Regions from separate parts of the Homo sapiens genome. Here region 1 is linked to region 2. The links are contacts of gene promoters, found by promoter capture Hi-C in human tissues and cell types (Jung and others, 2019). All regions are on one chromosome and are shown on one strand. The core of a region is centred on a gene start or on the middle of the fragment in contact, and the rest is flanking DNA. Distances in the headings are between cores, read along the strand shown.

What was found. Contacts are between HindIII fragments. The study calls those that stand out against the background at their distance.
Region 1: a contact is called between a fragment that was not itself captured here and the fragment with the promoter of CNPY2 in region 2, in 1 of the 25 tissues and cell types used here (hippocampus).

What each region holds. Positions count from the first base shown.
Region 1 is chr12:57,121,068-57,127,859 of GRCh38, reverse strand. No RefSeq gene overlaps it. Among named protein-coding and RNA genes, the nearest start is that of LRP1, 4.0 kb to the left of the region's middle. RefSeq lists an enhancer at 1-370. The HindIII fragment of the contact is 3,004 bases long and covers 319-3,322 here.
Region 2 is chr12:56,311,012-56,317,750 of GRCh38, reverse strand. CNPY2 (canopy FGF signaling regulator 2) reads left to right here and starts at 1,763. Exons shown (of 6, transcript NM_014255.7): 1 at 1,763-1,930; 2 at 2,509-2,621; 3 at 2,785-2,900; 4 at 6,337-6,540; 5 at 6,697-6,739. The coding sequence starts at 2,534. It overlaps PAN2 (poly(A) specific ribonuclease subunit PAN2), which reads left to right. Exons shown (of 26, transcript NM_014871.6): 26 at 108-815. The coding sequence ends at 142. It overlaps CNPY2-AS1 (CNPY2 antisense RNA 1), which reads right to left and starts at 6,337. Exons shown (of 2, transcript XR_002957416.2): 1 at 5,252-6,337; 2 at 2,943-3,222. RefSeq lists enhancers at 1,410-1,559, 1,640-1,689, 1,190-1,778. The HindIII fragment of the contact is 7,285 bases long and covers 1-6,739 here.

The DNA.
Region 1 (6,792 bases), core at 571-3,070, 810 kb before region 2:
GGCTCGGAGTAAACAGGGACACCCGAGGGGACACGCCGGAGCTTGTCCGCCCGCGTGGGGCTCGGGGATGGAGCCCACCTTAGTACCCGCCCGCCCTGCTCGCCCAGCCCTAGGCGCGGGAGGGGCAGGCCCTGGTTTGGAGGGAGGTGAGTCACCAGCGGGTGGGGTTGAGGAAAGGCCACCCCCTTTCGCCCAAGAAGTCGGGGCTCATTTATTTTTCTGTTTTTTTTTTTTTTTTTTTTTTTAATACCTTCTGACTGGCTTGCCATCAAGTTAGGGTTTTAGATTCCGAGCGCCAGGATTTGGAATAAGATGAGGGACTCTGGACCTTCGTTTCCAGGCCTCGGGTTCCAAGGAGGTGTCTGCTGAGCGCCGGACCTTTGTCCCCAGGCTCAGCCCACACGGGAATGATACTTTGCAGAAGGCAGGCGCCAGGCGGTTCCCAGGGGCCAGTGAACGTGCTTTTGGTCACTGCCCCCTTCTGGGCGGCGTTTTATGGCTGTTACCTTAGTGTCTGACTTTCTAGGTGTCTGCATGTCAGAGTTCAAGGAGCGGGGCAGACGACGTCGGCTGCCAAAAATTGACGCTGGAGAGGAGGGACTGTTCCCCCTTTTACGTTCTAGTTACGGAAAAGTCCCCACTCCAGTCTGTCCTTGGCAGAAACAGGAGCAGCACGAAGGACTTGCCTCCTAATGACAGTGAGCTCAACCTTTAGCTTCTTCCAGCCGGCTTTGCTCAGCGCGGTGGCCACCTGCCTTTAGTCTCCTGGGCTAGAAACCTCAGACTTTATGCCAACTCAAGGGGGCCTTTCCTTCCTATATCCAATCTTGCCAGCCTGTGCTCCAGGCTTGTCATTTTTTTCCTCTGAAGTATATCTCAGATTTCCTCCATTTCCACTGCCAGAGAGTTGCTCCAGGCAGGAACGGGGTCTTATTTCTCCTTTTATCCAGCTCCCATGGCCCAACACAATGTGAGACGCACTATGCGGACTCACCAAATGCCTACGAGGTTCCTCCCAGGGCCCCTCCCAGTATTGGGATCCAAGTGAAATCAGGTCGAAACAGACTTTAGACAGCTTGACAGCTTTGAGAGGAAAACGGTATCTGGAGCAACCACATGTAGCCTGAGGGCTTGAAGGGGCTTTCCTCCCTCCCCCTACCCATCTGTCAGGTGAATCTTCCAAAAACTGCTTTCCCGGTGTCTCTTCCTTGCTGGGGAACCTCTAGTGGGTGTCTATAGACCAGTCAAATGTGAACTCCTCTTCAGTCATGGCTTTCCAAAACCTGGCCTCAGTCAGCATGCACTTCTCACTTGCAACCTCCCATCCCCTGCTGTCTCCTGAATGTGAATGTGTATTTTTATTAACTTTATATTGTTAAAAAAAAAAGAAAGAAAGAAAAGATAATACCTAGTGGTTAAAAAAAGTACAGGAAGGTAAAAAGTAAAAGGAAACTTGATGCTCTCCACACCCCCATTTTTCAGCTGCACCCTCAGAGTAACTTCTACTAACAGTTCTTCAGGTCTCCCCTACCAGCAGAGGTTTCCCCCCCGCCCAAGACGGAGTCTTGCCCCGTTGCCCAGGTTGGAGTGCAGTGGCCTAATCTCGGCTCACTACAACCTCTGCCTCCCGGGTTCGGCGATTCTTCTGCCTTGACCTCCCAAGTAGCTGGGATTACAGGCACACGCCACTATACCCAGCTAATTTTTTTTGTATTTTTGGTAGAGATGGGGTTTCACGATGTTGGCTAGGCTGGTCTCGAACTTCTGACCACGTGATCTGGCCTCCTCAGCCTCCCAAAGTGCTGGGATTACAGGCGTGAGCCACCGTGCCCGGCCAGGAGAGTTTTTAAAACAGTAACATACAGGCCAGGCGTGGTGGCTCATGCCTGTAATCCCAACACTTTGGGAGACGAAGGTGGGAGGATCACTTTTCAGGAGTTCGAGACCACACTGGCCAACATGGCGGAACCCCATATCTACTAAAAATACAAAAATGAGCCACGTATCGTGACGCATACCTGTAATCCCAGCTACTGGGGAGGCTGAGGCACGAGAATCGCTTGAACCCAGGAGGTGGAGGTTGTGGTGAGCCGAGATCGTGCCACTGCACTCCAGCCTGAGCAACAGAGGGAGACCCTGTCTCAAATAAATAAATAAATAAAACAGTAACATACAAATATAAGTGAATATCCTTTAAAACTATAAAGAAACTCATATGATATATAGTGTTCTGTAACTTGCCTTTTTTTCAATTAACTTAGCTTGATCCCTTTCCATACCGTATGAACGCATTTAGCTCACCCTTTGATCTTGGCTACTTGGAATCTCCTTGCTTGGATGTTCCACAGTTTGTTGGGATTGTTGGGCACTTGGGTTATTTCCAGCAGGTGAACTGCTGAGGGTATGTCTGTAAGGTGAGAGAATGCATATTTATGTCTTTCTTTCTTTCTTTCTTTCTTTTTTTTTTTTGAGATGGAGTTGCACTCTTGTTGCCCAGGCTGGAGTGCAGTGGTGTGATCTCAGCTCACTGCAACCTCCACCTCCCAGGTTCAAGCGATTCTCCTGCCTCAGCCTCCCGAATAGTTGAGATTACAGGCACCCACCACCATGCCTGGCTCATTTTTGTGTTTTTAGTAGAGATGGGATTTCTCCATGTTGGCCAGGCTGGTCTTAAACTCCTGACCTCAGGTGATCCATGCACCTTGGCCTCCCAAAGTGCTGTGATTACAGGTGTGAGCCACCTCACCCTGCTGAGAATGCATATTTCTATCTGAGCCATTAATGATACAGTTCCCCTGCTCCTCTACCCTCCTCAGAAAAGCCCTCCTGTTATTCTCGCTCTGCCTATCTCTCCTGTTCCAAACTTGTATTCAGGAAAGCTTCAGTATCCAGAGTTTAGCACTTTATTTTGTGGGCTCTGTATCCACCACTAGACTATATACTCCTTGAGGGCAGGGACCATGTCTTTTTCTTCTTCGTTTCCACCCAGCGTGAGAGGCTCTTGATTGGTGAAAGGAATGTTAGGACTAGAGTTGCCTTTCCTGGAACAGGATGTGACTTCAAGCATCTTCTTCCCTCTATTTCTCTTATAGCATTCATTGTTTAATCCTCTCTGCCTCAGTGCCTTCTCTTCCTCCCCACATCTGTTCTTAAGAGGCATCTTCAAATCCTTGGGTTGAGATTATAACCATAATAGTAGGGAATCATGGAGGAATTCTCTGAAATTCATGATTGATACCTGGAATGGTGATGAGGGCAAAGAAGCTAGTGTGGGTAAAGGGCATCTCTTTTTTCGGGTCGCTCAGCAAATTACAAAATACCCGCCTTTTCTGAGTATAGCAGGGCCTGGGCTGGGGCGTTAATTGGGTAGCTCTGGAACTGAATGTCAAGCCAGAGGCTAGCACCACCTAGTGGTCAGTTAAGGAAGTGTGCGTAGGAAGGGTATCCCGGAAAGGTCTGATGGCAGGCGGAGAGAGGGAAAAGGACCAGTATTTATTGAGCGCATACCATGTCCCAGGCCCACGCAGTGGACTTTATTTACAGTATCAGCTCACTTAAGTCTACCTTTTGTCATGGGTGTTATTTCCAGTGTGTATAAGAAAATAGAATGTTCTGAGAGATTAAAGAATCTGTCCCAAATAATGGTGCAGATCCAAGCCCAGATTTCATTCACTTAATAAAAATATTAGGTACCTCGTATAAGCAAGTACATTGCTAGGCACTAGGGATAAGAGACGGAAACACACAGTCTCAGCCTTCAAGAAGCTTTCAGGTTAGCTGGGTGCTCAACAAGAGACAGACAATGACAATACAGTCAGTTCCTTAACACCTGTGATGAAGGCATGTGCAGAAGGGCATGGGAACATGGGAAGGATACCTCTTCCAGACAAGGTGGTCAAGACAGAGAGCAGCAGATGATGCCAGGCTAAATGTTGAATGAGAGGAAGAAAATGACAACCAATAACAAAAGGAAAGGGTGTTTTAGGCTGGATGGCAGGAAAGGCATTGGAGGCATGAGAAGTTTAAAACATGTGAAGAACATCAAATATGGTATCATAGCTGAAGTTTAAGGTACTTTGAGGGGAGAGTGTTGGATGAAGTATCAGAAAGCCTAATCACAAAGCGTGATTTTAGCCACAGTAAGGACTTAGAATTTTTTTTCTAGAAGTAGTGTAGAGCCAGTTGAGAAATTGGTGAAGTCCTTAATGCATGAGTGATGGAGCTGGAGAGGAAGAGGATTCAGAAACAATAAAGAAGTAGGATCTAGTATACTAACCAGTTAACTGTATAGGCCTGAAGATAGTGACAGAGAAATCTGAGTCTAGAAAATTTGGCTCACATTAGAATCACCTGGAGAGTTTTTAAAAATCCCAGTGCTGTGGTGGCATGCATCTGTAGGCCCAGCTACTCAGGAGACTAAGGTGGGAGGATTGCTTGAGCTCAGGAGGTTGAGGCTGCAGTGAACCTGATCACTGCATGATCATGCCACTGCACTCCAGCCTGGGTAACAGAGTGCAACCCTGTCTCAAAAAGAAAAATAAATGAATCAATGCTGGAGGATTTATGCTACTTGATTTCAAGACTTGTAAGTGACAGTAATCAAGACTATGTGGTGCTAGCATGAGAATTGACAAACAGATCCATGGAGCAGAATAGAGAACCAGAAATAGACTCACAATCATTTGATTTTTTAATAAAAATTCTATATGCGTTTATTATTTTATAATGTTACTTTTATATACTTTTATCTTGGAATTATTTTTCGTTTGATTAGTTTTCTATGCATCTATCATTTTCCCCAAATATCTCAACATAATTTTAAAAAATCAGATAGTTGTTTGATTTCTTATTGCAATTCCTTTGTGTTTACCACCCCTCCACCCTGCTCATCCCTATCTCACCCTGTGCAACTTCTGCATTCTTGCTTCAATGTTGACTAGGCACAGGCTTCGTTTTTCTTTTTGAGACAGAGTTTTGCTCTGTTGCCCAGTCTGGAGTGCAGTGGTATGATCATAGCTCACTGCAGCCTCAACCTCCTGGGCTTAAACTATTTTCCCCTGTCAACTTCCCAAGTAGCTGGGACTACAGACACATGCCACCATGCCTGGCTTCAGCATCCATTCTTAAACTCCTTTTCACCATTGATCTGGGATTTTACTCTTAGCTGGAACCTGTCTGAGACCCGACTATTGGAGGTCTCTTACTGCTGGAGGATGGTATCTCTGGGAAAGGCCCACTCCCAGACCCAGGAATGTAGGATCCATCTCAGTGCAGCTTTTCTCAGCTCTCTACTTGTCTGGGGTACCACACTTCTCAACCGGATTCTGTACTTCTCATAAAGGTATTTTGATCAGTAAATTGTTAAATCTGTGTTTCTGTGAGGGGATGAGAGGCGGGACTTCGTATTGCACCAACTGGCTGATCCCACTGTAAAGGTCATTTGATTTTGGCAAAGATGTCAAAGCCAGCCAGTGGAGAAAGGAATGTCTGTTCAATAAATAGTTATGGAACAACTTCATATCTATATGGGAGAAATAAATGAACCTTGACCCCTACCTCACACCATATGCAAAAATTAATTCAAGATTGATTATAGGCTGGGCCCAGTGGCTCACACCTGTAATCCCAGCACTTTGGGAGGCTGAAGCAGTTGAATCACCAGAGGTCAGGAGTTCAAGACCAGCCTGCCCAACATGGTGAAACTCTGTTTCTACTAAAAATACACAATTAACAGGCCAGGCATGGTGGCTCACACCTGTAATCTCAGCACTTTGGGAGGACAAGGCGGGTGGATCATCTGAGCTCAGTTCAAGACCAGCCTGGCCAACATGGCAAAACACTGTCTCTACTAAAAATACAAAAATTAGCTGGGCATGGTGGTGCATGCCTGTAATCCTAGCTACTCAGGAGGCTGAGGCAGGATAATCGCTTGAACCTGAGAGGCGGAGGTTGCAGTGAGCTGAGATCACACCACTGCACTCCAGCCTGAGTGACAGCGAGACTCTGTGTCAAAAAAATTAATTAATTAAAAAAATAAAAATACAAAAATTAGCTGGGTGTGGTGGTGGGCACCTGTAATCCCAGCTACTCAAGAGGCTGAGGCAGGAGAATTGCTTGAACCCAGGAGGTGGAGGGTGGAGTGAGCCGAGATCGCGCCACTGCACTCCAGCCTGGGTGACAGAGCGAGACTCCGTCTAAAAAAAAAGATTGATTATAGACCTAAACCACAAATGCTAAAATCATAAAGCTTTTAGACAAAAACACAGAATATCTTCATAATTTGGAGGAAAGCAACCCCTTCTTAAGCTATAGAAAGCAATAACATAAATTTCTTGATAAGTGAAACATCAAAATAGAAAACTTTTGCTCGTCAGAAGACATCATTATGGAGTAATCCCAGCACTTTGGGAGGCTGACATAGAAGAACTGCTTGAGGCCAGGAGTTTGAGACCAGCCTGGCCAACAAAGCTAGACTCTGTCACTACAAAAAATTTAAAAAATTAGCCGAGTGTGATGGTGTGCACCTGTAGTCCCAGCTACTCCAGAGGCTGAGAAGAGAGGATTGCTTGAGCCCAGGAGTTAGAGGCTGCAGTGAGTTGATTGTGCCACTGCACTCCAGCCTGAGTGACAGTGAGACCCTGACTCAAAAAAAAAAGACATTATTATGAAAATGTGGAAGTAAGCCAAATAGATAGACAAAACATTGATCTGAGAAGGGACAGAGGAATGCGAGATATATTAAAAATTCCTATAACATAGTAATAAAATGACAACCCAATGAATGGACAATAA
Region 2 (6,739 bases), core at 514-3,013:
GAAGGTCCATGCCCTTTTTTCTCTTGCATTTTTCCTTCATAGGAAGTATGAGAAGATGCTTTTTCTCCACTCAGCTTGAATCATGCTTTTGGTTTTGTCTCTGACAGATGCAGCTGTCTTCTCCTCAGTGCTGGCGCTCTGACTACCCTTCCCAAAGAACCACGGCCCTCTCCCTTTACTGTTCTATAGCCCCAGAACTGGGAGATGGCTTCCTAAGTTGGCTATACCTTGTCCACTTCCAGTACTGGACGTGCTCAGGGTCTAGGGTCACAGATGGTGCTATTAATTGAACTGGAACACAGCAGAATTGTTGCAAAGGTTCTAGGAGCCAGATTCATTCCTTCTTCATTCTTTGCAAAACAGTGGTACAGACATGGAGTCTAGAATTGACCCAGATGGAAAGTAATTGGTATTCTTAATATCCTGGGTGACTAATATCCAGGCAGAGAAGCTCCTGGAACCATAACTGTAAGTTCCTAGCTGGCTAGGGATTGAAGTCCTGGACAGTGACAGAGGATACCACAGTAGTTCAAGACTTAGCACAAGTCACCAACTGCTTCAGGGATACCTGGAGGGGCCAGCAAGTAGAGTGTTGGTGGCCCAAGCAAACCAGTGTTGCCAATACCATTGCCAAAAGGGCCTTTGGATCCTGGACAAAGCTTGGCTGCCGGCTTCATTTATTCCTGCTGATGGCTGAGAAGCATCTGTCTTCCATCCCACTTGCCTGTCCCAAGTTTTGTTCCATTTTTTAAAAATTTGTTGTAAACTGCATGTTTTATAAAATAAAAATAAAATATCGTTTGTTATTTATCTCATTAGAGAACTGCTAGTGTGGGTTCTCTGGCTTCAGTCTTCCTCTCCTTCCTTTGAAGGTAAAGGTCCGGAATCCAAAGTTATGGATATGAAAGGGTATAATTAGGCCGGGCGCGGTGGCTCACTTCTGTAATCCTAGCACTTTGGGAGGCAGAGGTGGGTGGAACACGAGGTCAGGAGTTAAAGACCAGCCTGACCAAGATGGTGAAACCCCGTCTCTACTAAAAATACAAAAATTAGCTGGGAGTGGTGGATGGCGACTGTAACCCTAGCTGAGGCAGAAAATTGCTTCAACCCGGGAGGCGGAGGTTGCAGTGAGCCGAGATCACGCCACTGTATGCCAGCCTGGGCGATAGGGCGAGACTCCGTCTCAAAAAAAGGGGAAAAAGGTATAATTTATGCCTTTTCTGGGCAATGCTGGGTCTTTGCTATAGCTGCCCAGTACCCTAAGTCAGACTGAAGATGTACAGTATGGTTTCCGTTAATTGTGTAAGCCGACAAACTACAGGTCCCAGGATAGCTTGAGACTTGTAGTTGCTCACAAAGATGGGTCCGGTGCTGCGGTGCTTCCTGGGAGATGTAGTTTCCTGTGTATTGAAACCTGGACTGCTCGCTGGCCGGCAGCGCACCGTTTTGAAGGTCCTAGCCCACCTGGGCTGGCTCACGCGCACGACTAGCCGCTCCCATACAGCACGCCCGGACTCTGTCGTCGCTTAAGGCCACTCCTATTCTACGGCTGACCCCTGGTGGTCACGTGGATCTGTTCGCCACGCAAGTCTGGGTCCTTCGGCGATTGACCGGGGTCCTTGCTGTTCGGGAGCCTCTCCTAAGCTGCCTGTTCGCGCGAGAGTTTGGAGGGGCGGGTTTGGGGTCGGTGTCTGATTGGGGCTCGCACCGCAGCACGCTGGAGTCCCGCTTAGGTACCAGTTAGCGTCAGGGGAGCTGGGTCAGGCGGTCGCCGGGACACCCCGTGTGTGGCAGGCGGCGAAGCGCTCTGGAGAATCCCGGACAGCCCTGCTCCCTGCAGCCAGGTGTAGTTTCGGGAGCCACTGGGGCCAAAGTGAGAGTCCAGCGGTCTTCCAGCGCTTGGGCCACGGCGGCGGCCCTGGGAGCAGAGGTGGGACGGATGCGGGCGGCGAGGCGCTGGGCGCTGAGGGTTGGGGATGGACTGAAGCGAAAGCAATGGCGGAGTCCTTAGAAAGGGGGCTGGTGTCCGTACGGGTAATCACTTACGGGCTGGAGGTGGGGACGCAGGAATCTTCGGTGCAGGATCCAAATGGGCCCTAGTTATTGCTCTCCTCGCTGGCCTCCTGGCCTGACTGAGGGCTCCCTGCCGGCAGTTCCCTAGTGCCTGTAGTCCTCACGTAATCGCCAACTTACCTCCTGTAGCTGCCACAAAGCCCCGTGAACCCTAGGCATGCAGTGCTAAAGTACCAACACTTAGGGCCTCACCTATCCACGTAGAGTCTGGGGCTGAGCCGCAAGTCCTGAGCTCGCGCTCCCACCCACCACCCTGGGGGAATCAGAGCCCTCAAGCGCTGGAACAGAGAAGCCCCTTTGTGTCCCGGCCATTTCCTGGAAAGTAGAGCCAGAGTCACAATGAGGCCTTTGAAAGCCTTGGGGTGAGGATTGGGGGGGTCAGGGAAAAATGGAGTCGGCTCCTCACACTTATGTTTTATTCCCACTCAAACCCAGGTGGAGCGACCCCATTACGCTAAAGATGAAAGGCTGGGGTTGGCTGGCCCTGCTTCTGGGGGCCCTGCTGGGAACCGCCTGGGCTCGGAGGAGCCAGGATCTCCACTGTGGAGGTAAAGGCACAACGGGAAAAAGAAGTGGAGGAAGCAGAGCCTTGGGAGGGCATGAGATCCAAGGCCTGGGAGAAGGATGAATGGAAATCCTGGGTTGATCCCATTCTCCTCACACCCTACCCCCTACCCTGTCCCCTGCTCTCATTCTCTCCTCTTCCACCAGCATGCAGGGCTCTGGTGGATGAACTAGAATGGGAAATTGCCCAGGTGGACCCCAAGAAGACCATTCAGATGGGATCTTTCCGGATCAATCCAGATGGCAGCCAGTCAGTGGTGGAGGTAACTGTTACTGTTCCCCCAAACAAAGTAGCTCACTCTGGCTTTGGATGAAATTCGACTGCTTAAAAAGGACCTTGGTTTAATAGAAATGAAGAAAACAGACTCAGAAAAAAGATTTGGCTCTGTCTCATTTGGAAGAAGCTGCAGGCTTATTCCCCATGCACTTGCTTCCTGGCTGCAAACCTTAATACTTTGTTTCTGCTGTAGAATTTGTTAGCAAACAGGGAGTCCTGATCAGCACCCTTCTCCACATCCACATGACTGGTTTTTAATGTAGCACTGTGGTATACATGCAAACATCCGTTCAAAATCTGAGTCGGAGCTAAAAATAAAAAATGAAAAAACAGAAATAAGAATAAAAGGTCTTATCCTCATAATTAGGAAATTTTAATCGAAAACAACACACATGTACACAAAGGTGTATCTAATAAGCAATATATAAGGCAGTGTTAAGATTACAGTGCTAGCCTGGGCATCATGGCAAAACACCAACTCTACAAAAAAATGCAAAAGTTAGCAGTGCATGGTGGCATGTGCCTGTAGTGACAGCTGCTTGGAAGGCTGAGGTGGGAGGATCACTTGAGCCCAGGAGGTCGAGGCTGCAGTAAGCCGTGATTGTGCCACTGCACTCCAGCCTGGGAAACACAGCAAGACCCTGTCTCAAAAAAAAACCAAAACCCAGCACTTTGGGAGGCCAAGGCAGGCGGATCACCTGAGGTTAGAAGTTCGAGACCAGCCTGGCCAACATGGTGAAACTCCGTCTCTACTAAAAATACAAAAAAGTAGCCAGGCGTGGTGGCTCATGCCTATAGTCCCAGCTACTCAGGAGGCTGAGGCAGGAGAATCACTTGAACCCAGGAGGCAGAGGTTGCAGTGAGCCAAGATCGCACCACTGCACTCCAGTCTGGTTGACAAGAACAAAACTCTGTCTTGAAAAAAAAAAAAGGCCGGGCGCGGTGGCTCACGCCCGTAATGCCAGCACTTTGGGAGGCTGAGGTGGGCAGATCACAAGGTCAGGAGATCGAAACCATCCTGGCTAACATGGTGAAACCCCGTCTCTACTAAAAATACAAAAAATTAGCCGGGCGTGGTGGTGGGTGCCTGTAGTCCCAGCTACTCAGGAGGCTGAGACGAAAAGAATGGCGTGAACTCGGGAGGCAGAGCTTGCAGTGAGCTGAGATGGTGCCACTGCACTCTAGCCTGGGCGACACAGCGAGACTCCTCTCAAAAAAAAAAAAAGAAAAGAAAAAAGATTATGGTACTTTAATAGCTGTTGTTCACAGAGCCTACACTACATCTTTAATACTGTGCTTACTGAGGATATTAGTCTCAATTTAAACAAAATTATTATTATTTTTTTGAGATGGAGTTTAGGGCTTGTTGCCCAGGCTGGAGTGCAATGACACGATCTCGGCTCACCGCAACCTCTGCCTCCCGGGTTCAAGCGATTCTCCTGCCTCAGCCTCCCGAGTAGCTGGGATTACAGGCATGCACCACCACACCTGGATAATTTTGTATTTTTAGTAGAGACAGGGTTTCTCCATGTTGGTCAGGATGGTCTCGAACTCCTGACCTCAAGTGAGCCACCCTCCTCGGCCTCTCAAAGTGCTGGGATTACAGGCGTGAGCCACCACGCCCGGCCAAAAATAAAATATTAATGAACACATGGACACAGGGAGGGGAACGTCACACATCAGGTCCTGTTGGGGTGTTGGGGGCTAGGGGAGGGATAGCATTAGGAGAAATACCTAATGTAGATGACAGGTTGATGGGTGTAGCAAACCACCATGGCACATGTATACCTATGCAACAAACCTGCACGTTCTGCACATGTATCTCAGAACTTAAACTATAATTTAAAAAAAAATTATCTTCATCTATAGAAATTAGAAGTATAAGTTGATCAGGTTAATCAAAAAATTCTGTTTATAACTTGGAGCTAATGTTAACTGTCTTGTTTCTTAGAATTGTACAATGAGGTGCCGGGCACGGTGGTTCATGCCTGTAGTCCCAGCACTTTGGGAGGCTGAGGCGGGTGGATTACCTGAAGTTGGGAGTTTGAGACCAGCCTGACCAACATGGAGAAACCCCGTCTCTACTAAAAATACAAAATTAGCTGGGCGTGGTGGCACATGCCTGTAATCCCAACTACTCGGGAAGCTGAGGCAGGAGAATCACTTGAACCCGGGAGGTGGAGCTTGCGGTGAGCCGAGATCGCGCCATTGCACTCCAGCCTGGGCAACAAGAGTGAAACTCCATCTCAAAAAAAAAAAGAAAAAAAAAAAGAATTGTACAATGAGGTAAAATAAAATCATATAGTTGAAACTACTGCCAAGTACAGTGGCTCATACCTGTAATCCCAGCACTCTTGGAGGCCAAGGCAGGCAGATCACTTGAGCACAGGAGTTCGAGACCAGCCTGGGCAACATGGCAAGACCCCGTCTCTACAAAAAAAATATAAAAAAGTAGCTGGGTGTGGTGGTGTGCATCTGTGTGAGGCTGAGATGGGAGGATCACCTAAGCCTGGGAGATCCAAGCTGTAGTGAGCCTCAGTCATCACACCACTGCACTCCAGCCTGGGCAACGGAGTGAGGCCTGTCTCAAAAAAAAAAAAAAAAAAAAAAAAAAGAAGTACTTTGAAACTATCAAGTAAACCATATTAATTTAAAACCAGGCCGGGCGCGGTGGCTCATGCCTGTAATCCCAGCACCTGGGGAGGCCAAGGTGGGCGGATCACTAGGTCAGGAGATCGAGACCATCCTGGCTAGCACGGTGAAACCCGTCTCTACTAAAAATACAAAAAATTAGCTGGGCGTGGTGGTGGGCGCCTGTAGTCCCAGCTACCCGGGAGGCTGAGGCAGGAGAATGGTGTGAACCCTGGAGGCGGAGCTTGCACTGAGCCAAGATAGTGCCACTGCGTCCGGCCTGGGCGAAAGAGTGAGACTCCGTCTCAAAAAAATAAATAAATAAATAAAATAAAATAAATGAAAACCACACTAGGCCAGGCACAGTGGCTCACGTCTGTAATCCCAGCACTTTGGGATGCCGAGGCAGGCAGATCACCTGAGGTCTGGAGTTTGAGACCAGCCCGACCAACACAGAGAAACCCCATCTCTACTAAAAATACAAAAGTTAGCTGGGTGTGGTGGTGCATGCCTGTAGTCCCAGCTACTCAGGAGGCTGAGGCAGGAGAATCACTTGAACCCAGGAGGCAGAGGTTGCAATAAGCCGAGATGGCGCCAATGCACTCCAGCCTGGGCAACAAGAGCAAAACCCCATCTCAAAAAACAAACAAACAAACAAAACTAATTAAAATCAATTAGGGAAAGCTTTTTAGAATAGGTTGTTGGAGCTAGATTTGGAAAGAAAAGTAAGGATATAAATTACTAATGTACAGAGGTAGAAGAGAGTGACCCAAGGCTGAGGACATTTCTAGGTGCCTTATGCCCGCTCAGAGGCCCACCTCACAGAGCTGCTGGAGGAGATATGTGACCGGATGAAGGAGTATGGGGAACAGATTGATCCTTCCACCCATCGCAAGAACTACGTACGTGTAGTGGGCCGGAATGGAGAATCCAGTGAACTGGACCTACAAGGCATCCGAATCGACTCAGATATTAGCGGCACCCTCAAGTTTGCGGTGAGCTATGGGAATCGGTAGCTGGTTCTTGGACATTAAGGGGTTGTTGGAGAACCAATTAGAAAGTTAGGCTGATATCCTTGTCCTCCTCTTTGGAAGTGAAGGCAAGAGGCCTCTTATTGCCCTGTGTCACCCATTTCTCCCTTGGGTTGGCAGTGTGAGAGCATTGTGGAGGAATACGAGGATGAACTCATTGAAT